Linked DNA regions of Homo sapiens: region 1 is linked to region 2. Evidence: promoter capture Hi-C in human tissues and cell types (Jung and others, 2019). All regions are on one chromosome and are shown on one strand. Each heading gives the region's core, a stretch centred on a gene start or on the middle of the fragment in contact. The rest is flanking DNA. Distances are from core to core; before and after follow the strand shown. Region 1 overlaps MATCAP2 (microtubule associated tyrosine carboxypeptidase 2). Region 2 holds the start of EEPD1 (endonuclease/exonuclease/phosphatase family domain containing 1).

Region 1 (7,148 bases), core at 1,964-4,463, 200 kb after region 2:
CATGGGAAGATACTCCCTGTTTATGCTCTTTTTTTTTTTTTTTTTGAGACAGTGTCTCACTCTATGGCCCAGGCTGGAGTGCAGTGGTGCGATCTCAGCTCACTGTAACCTCCACCTCCCAGGTTCAAGCGATTCTCCTGCCTTAGCCTCCCAAGTAGCTGGGACTACAGGCGCCCACCACCACGCCCAGCTAATTTTTGTATTTTTAGTAGAGACGGGGTTTCACCATGTTGGTCAGGCTAGTCTCGAACTTCTGACCTCAAGTGATCCGCCTGCCTCGGACTCCCAAAGTGCTGGGATTACAGGTGTGAGCCACCATACCCAGCCTCCTTGTTTATTCTTAAAGTATCCATTTTACTTGAAGATAGGCAATTTACATTTTTCTTTATTAGAATAAAGATACAATATGAAGTATGATGCAAAACTCACATGAACTTAAGATAATATGCAGATTTTATCTGAAGTATTTACTGCTCAAGAGCACCACTAAGAATCTACTTCTGACCCACTGGTGAGGATGCACCTGACCCCAAGTAGCTTTCTGCAGGCTCTAATTCCAGATCCCTTCCTTAGCACCTATGAAGCACTGTACTCTTTCCTGCAAAGGTCCAAAGCCACAGAAAACAGACATCTTGAGTTTCTGTCAAGTTTAAACGTCTCTAAGAGTCAGGAAGCTGAGGCTACCATGGCTGCCAGCATGCAGCAAGCCAGGGCTCAGCAGGCTACACCTAGAGTTATATTCCAGTCCTGCAGCCTGCTGTATGTCCTGTATCACCTCAGTGGTCTGAGTGCCTCCCTAGGGACATACTGCCTAGACCAAAAAACCTGAGGCCTGGAACTCCTTGACAATGATGGGGAGAACAGAGCATGAGCACTGCCTCGGTTCCACTGTGGCAGACTTATCTGTGCGCGAAAGTCTAGCATCATTCTGCTAATCTGTGCACTTAAGAGGACCACAATCATCCTCCAAAACAATACAGATTGCCTGTTTACCAAGATTCAGATTGTGAAACTCAAGAGACTGTCAGCTGTGGATTGGCAAGGCCTCAAAGGTAGAAGCCAGAGACCATGGGGCTAGTTGGCCATCCTGGCCCCTTTGGGTATCATGTTTCTGAGTCCTGGAGACCAGCCTTGAAGCTGCTGCTTTATCTAAGGAGGAGATGGATGTATGATATCATGTCATTATTCACTCGGTAGCTGAAGAAGAATTTAAGTATATTTTCCCAGAGGTCTTGTACCATGTATTTCTTTGATTAAAGTGGTTTAAACAGTATACTTGGCATTTATTGAGAATATTCTCCCAAATGGTGGCATTTGCAGTACAAGTCAGCTAAGATTGCTAGTGCTACTTAGAAGTCTCAAGCAATTCAAGTGTAGGATTAATCTCCTAAAGCTGGAATTGGATCAAAATTAAAATTGCAAAGCCACAGGCTAAGCAATGTCAACTCTCAAACTGTGGGGCTGCTGAGGCTCCCAAATTGCCTTCCAGAGAAATCAAAGAGCATTCTTTTTCATCTAATGGTTGGAAATCTCTTTCCCAACAGGTAGGGGTGGGGTAGGTCTCCAAATTAAGGAATACTGGTAAATAAATCTCAGCCATCTCTTTCAGCATCAGGGGGAAAATGCAAATAGGATTTTTATCATTGTAAAATTTATATTTGTGAAAGCCTTGTTCAATCGACTACAATTTCCACACACACAAAAAACCACATGTAAGAATGGCTGCCAAATAGAAATAAAAATAACAGCTAACCTCTTTATTAGTGCTTTGTAGGTGCCAAGCACGATGATAACTGCAATATATGCACTAAGCATTCTCTCATTTAATTATCAAAATAATCTCCTAAAGTAGGTATTTTCTTTACTCCATTTTACAATGTGGAAGTAGTACAGCCTAAGAGTGGATTATGTAATCACTATGTTAATGCTGCCTTCTCCCATCCAGAAGTGCCACTTTATATTAGTAAGTTATCAATTTGAATCACAATTTTTAGCACAATCTCAGCACATTTTTTAAAAAGCAAATACCCATTAAAGAATACAGAAGCAGAAGCAAAGAGACCCTAACAAAGGAAAGTAAATACCATGATTAAAATTATTTTAATCTTTACATAATGGCTTTACATAATTAAGTTTTACATAATGGCTTCAAAAGACTGGCCAGATTCCATGTTATCTATAATAAACAGCAAAATATCTGCTGGCCGCAAGACCAAATAACTATTATCAGCAAAAATGCTAAAATAGGACATGCACCACAGGCGAGAGAACCATGCAGTTTTACCTATCCTACAAACAGATTTTCAGTCACTGACAATGCCAAGTTGAAGCTAATATATTATAAAAACCTGAACAAAGTTAATTTGACCAAATATTGTCGGCCTTTATGATCTCAAAACTATGCCCTGCAGATAAACATTAGCTAATTTCTTCTCAAATGCTTAAATGAGGTTCTGAAATGTATTATAGCCCTGTAAAACACAAAACTGCTAAGGGCTTAAAGTGAGCAATTTAAAAGTATTATTCATAACGTTCACATCATAATTTGCTAAACTTGAAGATAATTTTGAAAATCCCATTATTTTTATCTTTGAATAAGTGCTTAAATATTTATTTGATGATGATTAACAATTTCAGTGAAGCATTAACAAGTTCATGGACAAGAATCAAGCTTCGGTTCCCAAACTACTTACCGGAGCCTAAGCAAGCCAGGAATTTAACACAATAGGAAGAACCAGGGATTGCATGCTCCATCTAAGACATTAAAAAATCAATTAGAGGCCAGGCATGGTGGCTCACACCTGCAACCTCAACACTTTGGGAGGCCAAGGCGGGCAAATCACTGGAGATCAGGAGTTCAAGACCAGCCTGGCCAAAATGGTGAAACCCCATCTTCACTAAAATTACAAAAATTAGCTGGGTATGGTGGCGGGTGCCTGTAGTCCCAGCTACTCGGGAGGCTGAGACACAAGAATCACTTGAACCCAGAAGGCAGAGGTTGCAGTGAGCCAAGATCGTGCCACTACACTCCAACCTGGGCAAAGAGCAAGAATCTGTCTCAGAAAAAAACAAAAAACAACAAAGAAATCAATTAGAAAACAAAAACGTAGTGTGGGCTACCCAACACTTGTCTGTAGGCGGCTAAATTGGCCACAAGTTTGTAACTCCCACATGAAAGCTTAGAACCAGAATCTGAAGCTGTCTTCCTAATATAATTGCTTCCTGTCACAAAGAGCCTATATAACAGATTATAAATTTTGATGAATGCAATGGAGTTTATATACAGGTAATACTCGTCTTGTCGCACATTTACATGTCCTGAGTGGGAATTAACCATAACATAGAAATAATTTGAATATTTTTAAATGTCTTTGTTTTTGCTTATAAGATCACAGATAATTGTTTTAGTACATAAAAATGAACTACCACTATTGAAATGGCATTTTACCTGCTTAAGAAATCGGTCAGATGCGTGGCTATGCTTAGCTAATACGCTTGGCAGAGCAGGATTGGCATACTCAAACTGAGGATTGTAGGTATAGTCAGATTTGAAGAATCTCAGTTTTTCTTTCTCTAAGTTGGTGGGTTTTATAGCAGTCAATATACAAAATTTCTTCCCAGAAAAGTCATCTCCCTTTTCAAAGCTTCTAGACAGCTGAGGCTTTGGCTTTGGAAGAGTGGAGAAATGGCACCACTTGACCTTGCTTTTGGGTTTAGGTGGCAGTACTATGCCATTCCCTGTAACAGAGATATCATGTGTAAACTTTACAGGACTTGACACTGAACTAGTGACAAAAACAGCAGGCCGCCTCTCCAGGCAGTACCAAGTACCACTGCTTGTCACAGGCACCAGGGCTTTCATCCTGCGAGGATCTTTGCTACGAGAAGTGTTAGGAGATTTGCTGGGTTTTCTACATCTTTTGGAGTAGGTGGAGGAAGACTGTTTTTGTGAATGATACTTTTTTTCCTCCTTGCTCTGTAGTAGGACATTGTAACTACTGGTTCCAGTTGTGAAAATGTCTTTTAGCACTCCCGAGGACAAATGTGAAATGCTTCTTTTGTTGTCAATGATCAATGAATCTTCTGCATTTAGAATAGACTTCTTAGCAAGTTCTTGCTCAGGCCAGTGAAGCTTTTCTGTGTTAATAAACAAAATCAAAACAAAAGAAATAACAAAGATACCAGATGAAGCAAACTGTTTATTAGGAAAGGTATTCTGAAGATTCTATAAACTTCGTAATTTTGCAGTAATCATTAGAAAAAAACATTTTAAATATTAAAAGGATATATTACTAAACTTTGGTCACGCTAGCTACTGTCATTTCTCTTCTCTATGAGTATATATAAGTTAAATTATCTAAAAAATCCTCAGCTTCAAACCACTTAGATGATCAAAGTCTAATATGTGAGATAATATACATAAATAATCTGAATACTTGATTCTACAAAAGAATGTAGATTTTGGCTGGGCGCAGTGGCTCACACCTGTAATCCCAGCATTTTGGGAGGTCGAGGCAGGCAGATCACTTGAGCAGGAGCTGGAGACCAGCCTGGCCAACATGGTGAAACCCTGTCTCTACCAAAAAATACAAAAATTAGCCAGGTATAGTGGTGCGCCCCTGTAATCCCAGCTACTCAGGAGGCTGAGGCATGAGAATTGCCTGAATCCGGGAGGCAGAGGTTGCTGTGAGCTGAGATCGCACCACTGCACTCCAGCCTGGGTGACAGAGTGAGACCCTATCTTAAAAAAAAAAAAGAATGTGGATTTCATAGAAATGATATATTTTAAAATAGTATTTTCTATAATAAAGTAAAATCCAAGGCACTTTCAAAGACAATACAATCTTGAAATTTGGAAATATATATAAAGGTAGCTATCAGTAAAAGGACAACAAAGCCTTATTTACTCAAAAACCATTGTTAAGATTAAACAGATGGCATCTTCAAGCATGTTTTAGTAATGTCGCTTAGTATGAATAACTGGTTGATTTTCTTCATAATTCTAAGCTGTACGTTAAGGTTAAAGAAAAACAAGGGTTTTTTCTTGGCAAGTTAGAAAAACAAATTTTAATAACTATTACAAAGGTATTAATATATCAAATGGCAAGTGAAGGAGAGGGCAGCTTTGTTTTTAGAACTCACAAGTGCTTTAAACAGATAAGAATCACTGGATATACTGTTGTGCATTCACTACTTTAAAACTGTGTTGATCTGCATTCTTTCATTCAACAAATACGTAGAATGCTACTAATTCAGCACATGGCTCTGATAAACAACTGTATAAACACATTGTTCTTACCTATAACCAGCTTCTAATCTGGCTCTGAAGACAAGGCATTCCTATGAAGATTTCAACAATAATACAATGTAGTATATAATTAAACATGAAAAACAAAAGACACAAACAATAACCTACAGTTCAGATGAGGAAGGAAGCAATATGAAGAGAAACAGATGAGATTTCAAGTAGGCCCTTAAGGGTTTTCAGATTCAATTCTAAACTGATGAAGAGTTTGTCTTAAATACATCTCATCTGAACAAGACTCCAGCTCAACTCCTGTCAATAAGTGTTCACTGAATAAACAAATGAATAAATAAATGACCCTAAACATGCAATTCTGCAACCATTCTGAATAAATATGTACTTGTAGTTCTGGGACCATTCAAATATGAGATAACTGCAGACCTGAAAATATAACAGGAAAGACCCTAAACCAGTAGTTCTTAACAGAAGGCAATTTTACCCTCCAGGGAACATTTGGCAATGTCTAGAGACATTTTGGTTGTCACAACTGGGGAGAGGGTATTGACATCTAGCAGGTAAAGGCCAGGGATGCTGCTAAACATCCTTCACTGCATAGGACAATCTCCCACAACAAAGAAAGATTCATTCCAAAATGTCAACAGTATCAAGGTAGAGAAACTCTTATCTAAATGTTAGTTTTTAAAACCCAGGAGTCACAGAGTCTAGGGTAAAGAGACAGTACTAAAGTAGATAATAATCCAAATATGTAAGGTATTTAAAAGTCCTTTTACTTACATTTTCTAGGCCAGCATGTGAAATCTGAATTTTGGTGTCTAAAAGATAACATAAAGGTATTTCTAAAGCTTGCAGGGGCTAAATGTCTATTATATGTGTAAGTTTAGAGATAGGAGCTAGATCACATAGGGTCATGTTGAAGACAGGTTGTACAAAGAAGCTGTTCAATAAATGTTAAAGACTCAACAAGACAAAATTAACTGGACAAATAAACAAAACGTTCATCATAGGCTGGTAGCTCCCAGTTTCTCAGGAGTTTCATAGACTTACGTGTTGCCAACTAACAGTCAAAACTGAGCAGGCCAAGCAAACAGGCTAAGGAATACCAGGACACAGGCTGTAGCCCAAATGCCCAGGAATAATGTCGGTTTCCCTCAAACGACACCACAAGCTTAGGAGACAAGAGGTGATAATGAAAAGAAAACCGAAATAGATACAAAAAGGGAAAGACTGAAAGAACTCAAATAAGCATAAGCCTAGGAAGTAGGGTAAGGACTAGGTGTAGCCGGAAACGTAAAGGGAGGAAATCAGGTTGTTTTCTCAGTTGATCTTCGTAATAAAAAGGGACAGAGTTACACCAAATTAAAATCAATAAATAAGACTACTCTGAAGAATTTGTTTTGATGATTCATTACATATATGTTGTACTGATTTTTTAAAAATGAATACTCAATGTGAAAATGCTCTGTTTTCTAAGACCTAGTAGCTTTACGACCAAAGAACTGAGCTTGCTGAGTTTTTTGTCGTAAAGCATCAGTGACCTCCAAATTCATAATTTTGTGCCATCTGAAACAGCCTACACATTTCCAGATACTAAAAAAAAACGTCCTAAACCACCTGTCAAAATACTCAAGGAGGAATGAAGTATGGCAGCGGGGTGACAGTATATGCCTGACAGAACCTCTCTCCCCAGGAATTACAGCATTTCAGTTCACTTGCTAATTATCTCCTGAGAAGCTTAGCACGAGTCCTTTTGAAGCTCCATCTGCTGCTGAATAAAGTTTGGGAGTGTTAATGGTCTATTTATTTTACAAATGTCAATCCTGTTAAATGCTGGATAGCCCATGAAGTTCATAAAAGTGGGGCACATGGTCCTTCACGCAACTCA
Region 2 (6,476 bases), core at 275-2,774:
AGATGGAGGCAGTCCTGCCATGTCCTAATGACCCCATCATCACTTGGGTCGGATGCAACCAGACTTGAGGTAAGATTCCTTACCTTAACTTTTCAACAAGGAACCAAAAATTTCCCCCCGACCTTTTTTTTTTTTTTTTTGGTCTAAGCTAGTTTGACTTGGTTTTCTGACCAATATACATAGCAGGGGAATGTGCCTCAGAAAGGCAGTAGCATTTTCCAAACTTGGGCTGCCGCTAATTTTACAACCAAAGTACCTTCCGCCTGTGAGAGGTACTATTTTTGCTGACCCAGTCCTTGGAATTGAAACCAGATGCACTGGTCACATTGGTTGGGGATGAAACTTCAGAGAACACTAAACGTCCAGGGTCAAAGTATTCAACGATATCACCGCATGATTTGCTTAATCGAATACTCTAGCTCTAGGTATCCACTATAATGCAGAGGGCTCTTTAATCTTTAACCAAATTGTCATTTAGCAGTGTGATGCAAAAACTCTTCTGGGTTTTGGGAAGCAGCCCCCATTTCCCTCCTTCGTAATGATTAGACTTAATATTACAAAAACTTATCCTTGTTTACTCACAGCGCTAAATGTGCAAAGGAGCAAACCTGTATTTGACCTATGCGAACACACAGGAGGGTGGTGCGTGCCCTCTGCTAGGAGCACAATGCGTCGCTGGCGTTATTAGAGGACATCTCTCTGAGCGGAGCAAAGGTAATACACTGGTGGAAGAAAAGAAAAGGCCGAAAGTGGGGACAGAAATTAAGACGATCCCATTCAGTCTCCTCTGGAACGTTCTGCAAAATTCCGTGAGACCCTGGACCTACAGCGATGCACTCTCAGGGACTGCCCCGGCCTTCATCCCCACACCTCAAAGACAGACGAAAAGCAGCTGAGCAGATCTCGCCTCGGGCAATCCTAAACAGCCTCTACCAGGCACAACCAGTCCTAGGCCCCGGGCGGCAACCATGGTCCGGGGGCAGCTGACTTAGGACAGCCTCCCTGTGACCCGCCCTCGCCGGCACGGCGCCGGCTCCGCCCCTTAAGCCCCCTAAGTCCCGCCTCTGCGCTCCCGGGGCCTACCCCCGCGCTCATGGCCCCGCCCCCGCTTTTCCTACCCCATCGCGCCCTGGCCCCGCTCCCACACTCTATGACCCCGCCTCTCGCACTCCAGGCCCGCCCCACGCGCTCCAGGGTTCTGCTCTCCACCCATTTGTGCCAGGCCACGCCCCCACACCCATGGCTCCTCCTCTCGCACGCCAGGGCCTCCCCTCGCGCTCTCTGGTTCGTTCTCCACCCTCTTGAGCCTTGATGCCGCCCCCTCTTCCATGGCCCCGCCTCTCCCACTCCAGGCCCGCCCTTGCGCTCTCGGGTTCCTCTCTCCACCCACTGGTGCCAGGCCTCGCCCCGCGCCAGGGCCCCTCCCCCACGTGCCCTCGGGAGTCCCGGGGAGGAGTTGCCGCGCGGAGGAGGCGTGGCCGCGGTGCCTGCGGAGGCGCGAGCGGCGCGGCGCGGCGCGGCCGGGACTTTGGCTTTGACACCGACTGCGAGCGGGAGCCGTGCGGCTGGTGCTGGGTCTGGACTGGCTCTGGCGGATCCCCGCCCGAGTTGGGCGCAGGACTTTTTGCCGGGGTAAACGCAACTGCGGCGGCGCCGCCGCAAGCCCCGGTGCAGCCTCGGCGGCGGGTTTCGCCGCCGCTGCCGCCGCCTCCGAGCAGCCCTGCGGCTTCTATTCACTCTGGGAGAGCGATGCTAAGTTTCTCCCATAGAAAGAGCCGGGACACGCAGACCGAAGCGGCGTAGTCGGCTTCCAGGGCCTGACCAGTGACCCACACCCGCGCGGACGCCTAGGCTGGAGGCAGGGGGCCCGTGCTGTCCCGGGCTGGGCTCAGGCTTCCGAGCCGCAGGTGGAAGAGGAACCGGCGCCCCGCAGAGCGGCCGAGAGGTGGGGCGCGGGGACCCGCGGCAGGTCGGGTGGGGGGTCGATAAGCCCCTTCTCAGTGCCCGCTCCGGGGAGCACGGACTTCCCAGGTTGCAGGTAGCGCTGTGTCAGATGCGGAGCGTGGGGGAGGTGGAGTGGCCACCCCGTCTGCGCGAGCCCAAGTGTGGGTGACCCAAGTGTCAGAGTTGAGAGAGGCCTGGAGGAGAGGCATGAGGCTGATGGGGATAGGTCTCTTCCCAAGAGAAGCGGCTCGTAGCCTTTTTGGACTCCAGTGTGATAAAACCCGGACGTCCCTAGAGGAGAATCCACATGGGCCTAGCCTCATTGTGCCTGCGTTTTTAGGGGTTCACGGGCAGCCACCAGTCCCCGACTCCTGGTTACTAACTCTAGCACTAGGTAGGGGGTGCTAATGCAAATTTCTTAATTCAATGGGTTTCTATGTTTATTGATTTATTTTCTAGGCGGCCAAGTGAAAGGTAATTTTGGACACGCCAGGCATGGAAGATTCGGTGTTTGTCTATAGTAACCTCTTCAGTCCCTGAATCCTGCACCTTCCGTTTTTCTGTGCTTGTACGGCCTACTGGGCTTCCTCCCTAGCCAGAGAGCTCTTCTGCAGTGGTGCGGCCTTCCCGGGAGCCTGATCCTGGCGGACCATGGGGAGCACCCTGGGCTGCCACCGCTCCATCCCCAGGGACCCCTCGGACCTGTCCCATAGCCGCAAGTTCAGCGCAGCCTGTAACTTCAGCAACATTCTAGTGAATCAGGAGCGGCTCAACATCAACACTGCCACGGAGGAGGAGCTGATGACCCTGCCTGGGGTGACGCGTGCCGTGGCACGCAGCATCGTGGAGTACCGAGAGTATATCGGTGGCTTCAAGAAGGTGGAGGACCTGGCATTGGTCAGTGGTGTAGGCGCCACCAAGCTGGAGCAGGTCAAGTTTGAGATCTGTGTGAGCAGCAAGGGCAGCTCAGCGCAGCACTCTCCCAGTTCCCTGCGGCGGGACCTGCTAGCGGAGCAGCAGCCTCACCACCTGGCCACAGCTGTGCCCCTCACCCCACGTGTTAACATCAACACAGCCACCCCGGCCCAGCTCATGAGCGTGCGAGGCCTCTCGGAGAAAATGGCCCTCAGCATCGTGGACTTCCGCCGTGAGCATGGGCCCTTTCGCAGCGTTGAGGACCTAGTGAGGATGGATGGTATCAATGCCGCCTTCCTGGACAGGATCCGGCACCAGGTGTTTGCTGAGAGGTCCAGGCCCCCATCCACCCACACGAACGGGGGACTGACCTTCACCGCCAAGCCTCACCCGAGCCCCACTTCCCTGAGCCTGCAGAGTGAGGACCTGGACCTGCCGCCAGGGGGGCCCACCCAGATTATCTCCACTCGGCCGTCCGTGGAGGCCTTTGGAGGCACAAGGGATGGGAGGCCTGTGCTGAGGCTGGCCACCTGGAACTTGCAGGGCTGTTCCGTGGAGAAGGCCAACAACCCCGGGGTGCGAGAGGTGGTGTGCATGACACTCCTGGAAAACAGGTGAGGACAGGAACCACCATGGGTGTTGGGTGTGAAGGCAACTTGTGCGTGACCTCATCTATGGATGCAAATGAATGGATTCTTTTGCGGGTAGGGAGGGTGCAAGAGTTTTTAATCAATGTTCTTGAAGCCTCAGCCAATACCGTCACCTGAGAATGGGCTGTCCTTCTGCTCCAGAATTTTCTGAATACAGCTGGGCTTGTGACCCATGTCTTGAGTGTGAGATATCTGAGACTGATTCATAATTTTGGGGTAAGCAGAGGTTGTGTTTTTGTTACTGCTTTGGAGGATGCTGGGTCTACACCAAGTCAGGCACTCAGAGCATGGGAACTGGTGCAGTTTCGCATGTGAGAAAGAGCTCATTGGATTTTGTTTATTAATGGGAGGGAAAATCATATTTGTTCCATCAAATATGCCTATTTGTGCACACAAAATCATCTTAAAGGCCAAGTATTTGCAAACACATACAAGTGTCTATATTTACCAAAATGCTATGAATGAATCACTCTCCATTCTTTTTCCTTATTTAACCTGGAGTTGGTTTTCAGCCCTAAAATTGTAGCCCAAAATGTGTGTAACCTTTTCTGTGCCATAGCCAGAAAAAAGCAAGCTGACGTGTGTGTGTGAAAATTGGCCGGATTTTCCCCATTTAAACCAAAGAAAAGAGTCCAGTAGGATAGGCCGTTACCACAGAGCGTTTATGTTATTCACAATACTGCTCTCTGTAGGAATTTCTGTTAGCCTCGTCATAAACAAAAACAATATTATTTTGGCAGTAACTCCTGCTGTTAGTAAAATAGCAAACTGTATAATGTAATCAGGTGTGGGAAAGAAAGAAATATTTGTGATGGTCCCTTCCAGGTCATAAGAGCTGTGATCCTGGACTTGAGGCGTTTTGCCCTGCCACCCACCAGGGGTGCAGTGTTTGTGGCTACTCGTTGATTTCCTTTGCACTGAGTTGTTGGTGAGGCTGGCGGCGGGGGGGCAGCAGTTTGGTGACACGAAGTGAACTCTCAGCGGGAAATCACAGTGCATGATGGCAGATCACCAGGAAAATTAGTGAGGAGAAAAGCAGGTCACAACGTTTCCTTGGCACTGACCCAGTGGCATGCTCTCATCACTGAGAGAGGGACTCCACACTGGGTCAGGGAACTGGACTGGGGAGCCCTTGAATGCTCTCCCTGCACTGCTGTGTCCTCTCTTTTGCAGCCTAACTCACTCCTTCTGCAAAGTCTTCTTGTGCACAGGTGAGAGCTGTACTCGGCACCGGGAGATATTTATAAAGAATGGCTTGATAATTGTTCTCTTTATCCATAGCAGCATGGGCGTGTGAATGGGAAATGAGGAGGGGAGAGGCAGGAAAGACAAAGCTGCTTAATTCCTATTATGCTTTCTAGTGGCTCAATTTGGGAGGGGGGTGATGGATTAGGATCAAAAGTTGGTCCAGTGGGACTGACCAACCAGGCAGCCCCTGCCTATTTATTATGTCAGTGGTTTCTAAAGTGTGGTCCCCCCTGGGGACCAGCAACATCAGCTACTGACTCAGAAACTTTGTTTCTGTGTTTTAACACACCCTCCAGGTGGTTCTGATGCACACTAAAGTTTGAGAACCATTGTACTAGGTGTTAGGCAATCAGCTGTCCCTCTGTCTCTTGGAAGCCCCTTCCTCTGGCAGGGTTAGTGAATTCATGCAGAACTTTCCAGGTCTAGTCGGCCCTCCATACCTGTGGGTTCCACATCCATGGATTCAACCAACTGTAGATGGAAAATATTCAGGAAAAAAAAAAGTTGTGTCTATACTGAACATGTCGAGTTTTTTCTTGTCATTCCCTAAACAATCCAGTATGGTAACTATTTACATAACATTTACATTGTATTAGGCATTCTAAGTAATCTAAAGATGAATTAAAATATACTGGAGGATGTGCATAGGTTATATGTAAATAATATGCCATTTTATATCAGGGACTTGAGCATCATGGATTTTGGTATCACAGGGGCTCCTGGAATCAATCTCTGCAGATACCAAGGTACAACTGTCATTTTTATTTTCCCCTTTGATTGTTTTGATCATCCTTATAATTATTCAACCTTGTGATATTCTTTCTGACCAAGCGTTGAGGAGCTTATTCATCTTCTAGGACCTATGAATGTGAAGGGTAGAGAATAGGAGAGTGAGCAAAGACGGCTGGCCTCAGCGCTGGCTCCACCCTGCAGCCCACTGAGCAGGAGACCTCACGACTCTTGTCCAGTGTGAAGGTTGTCCTGTTTTTTTCTTCTTTGGGTTTCCTAGAGAGATGATGATTTGCTGAAGACATTGAACTACTGTCGTCAGGCAAGAGTACAGGAAAAGTTTACCCAAACCCACCAGGGTGTAGAAGGGATCACCTGTAAGTGACTGGGAAGGTGACCCGCACCGTCACATTCTCACTCTTGGCCAAATGTGTTGGAGGTTGATGGTTCTCTTTGCCTGGTCACAATGGATTCAGTATTCCAGACACTCCTAGCACATTGTTAATGTTTAGTAAACATGAACTAATGGACTCAGGGCCTGATCCCCTTCAGAGTAGGGTGAGTGCTTTGTCTGTATGACTGTCCTAGGGTATCAAAAGCTGTCACAGAGTAGATCTCGTGTCCTCAATGATAGCAGCACCCATTCTCCAAGAGCTGTGTGTTCGTCCTGATTCACAGAAATCTCTCCCCTTCCAATTGTTCCCGTATTAGTAAGAGGAAATACATTTAGTATGAGCAAGAATGGGTGCAGGTGATTTCTGGGTGGCTCTTATTTACATCCATGTGTACCTGTAATAAAAGAGTTTCCTAACTTTTGGGTATGCCTTCGTGCTTTCTAACAGCTTTCCCATTTACTTGATTTTCCTAGTAAGTCTGGGATGTAGGTAACACTGACTTTTATTAATGATTCTTCATCTCTGGGTAAGGAAACTAAAATCAAGTAAGTTAGATGACATGACTCTATCAGGCAGCTCCTTAGTGACTCAGCTG

The links. The method cuts DNA at HindIII sites, captures the fragments that hold promoters and counts their contacts. A contact is called where the count stands out against the background at its distance.
Region 1: a contact is called between a fragment that was not itself captured here and the fragment with the promoter of EEPD1 in region 2, in 1 of the 25 tissues and cell types used here (spleen).

The regions. Positions count from the first base shown.
Region 1 is chr7:36,353,454-36,360,601 of GRCh38, forward strand. It overlaps MATCAP2 (microtubule associated tyrosine carboxypeptidase 2), which reads right to left. Exons shown (of 7, transcript NM_001199706.2): 2 at 3,449-4,137. Among named protein-coding and RNA genes, the nearest start is that of MATCAP2, 10 kb to the right of the region's middle. RefSeq lists an enhancer at 6,654-7,148. The HindIII fragment of the contact is 3,813 bases long and covers 1,308-5,120 here.
Region 2 is chr7:36,151,730-36,158,205 of GRCh38, forward strand. EEPD1 (endonuclease/exonuclease/phosphatase family domain containing 1) reads left to right here and starts at 1,525. Exons shown (of 8, transcript NM_030636.3): 1 at 1,525-1,945; 2 at 2,404-3,473. The coding sequence starts at 2,596. RefSeq lists a silencer at 937-1,656 and an enhancer at 6,359-6,476. The HindIII fragment of the contact is 14,356 bases long and covers 1-6,476 here.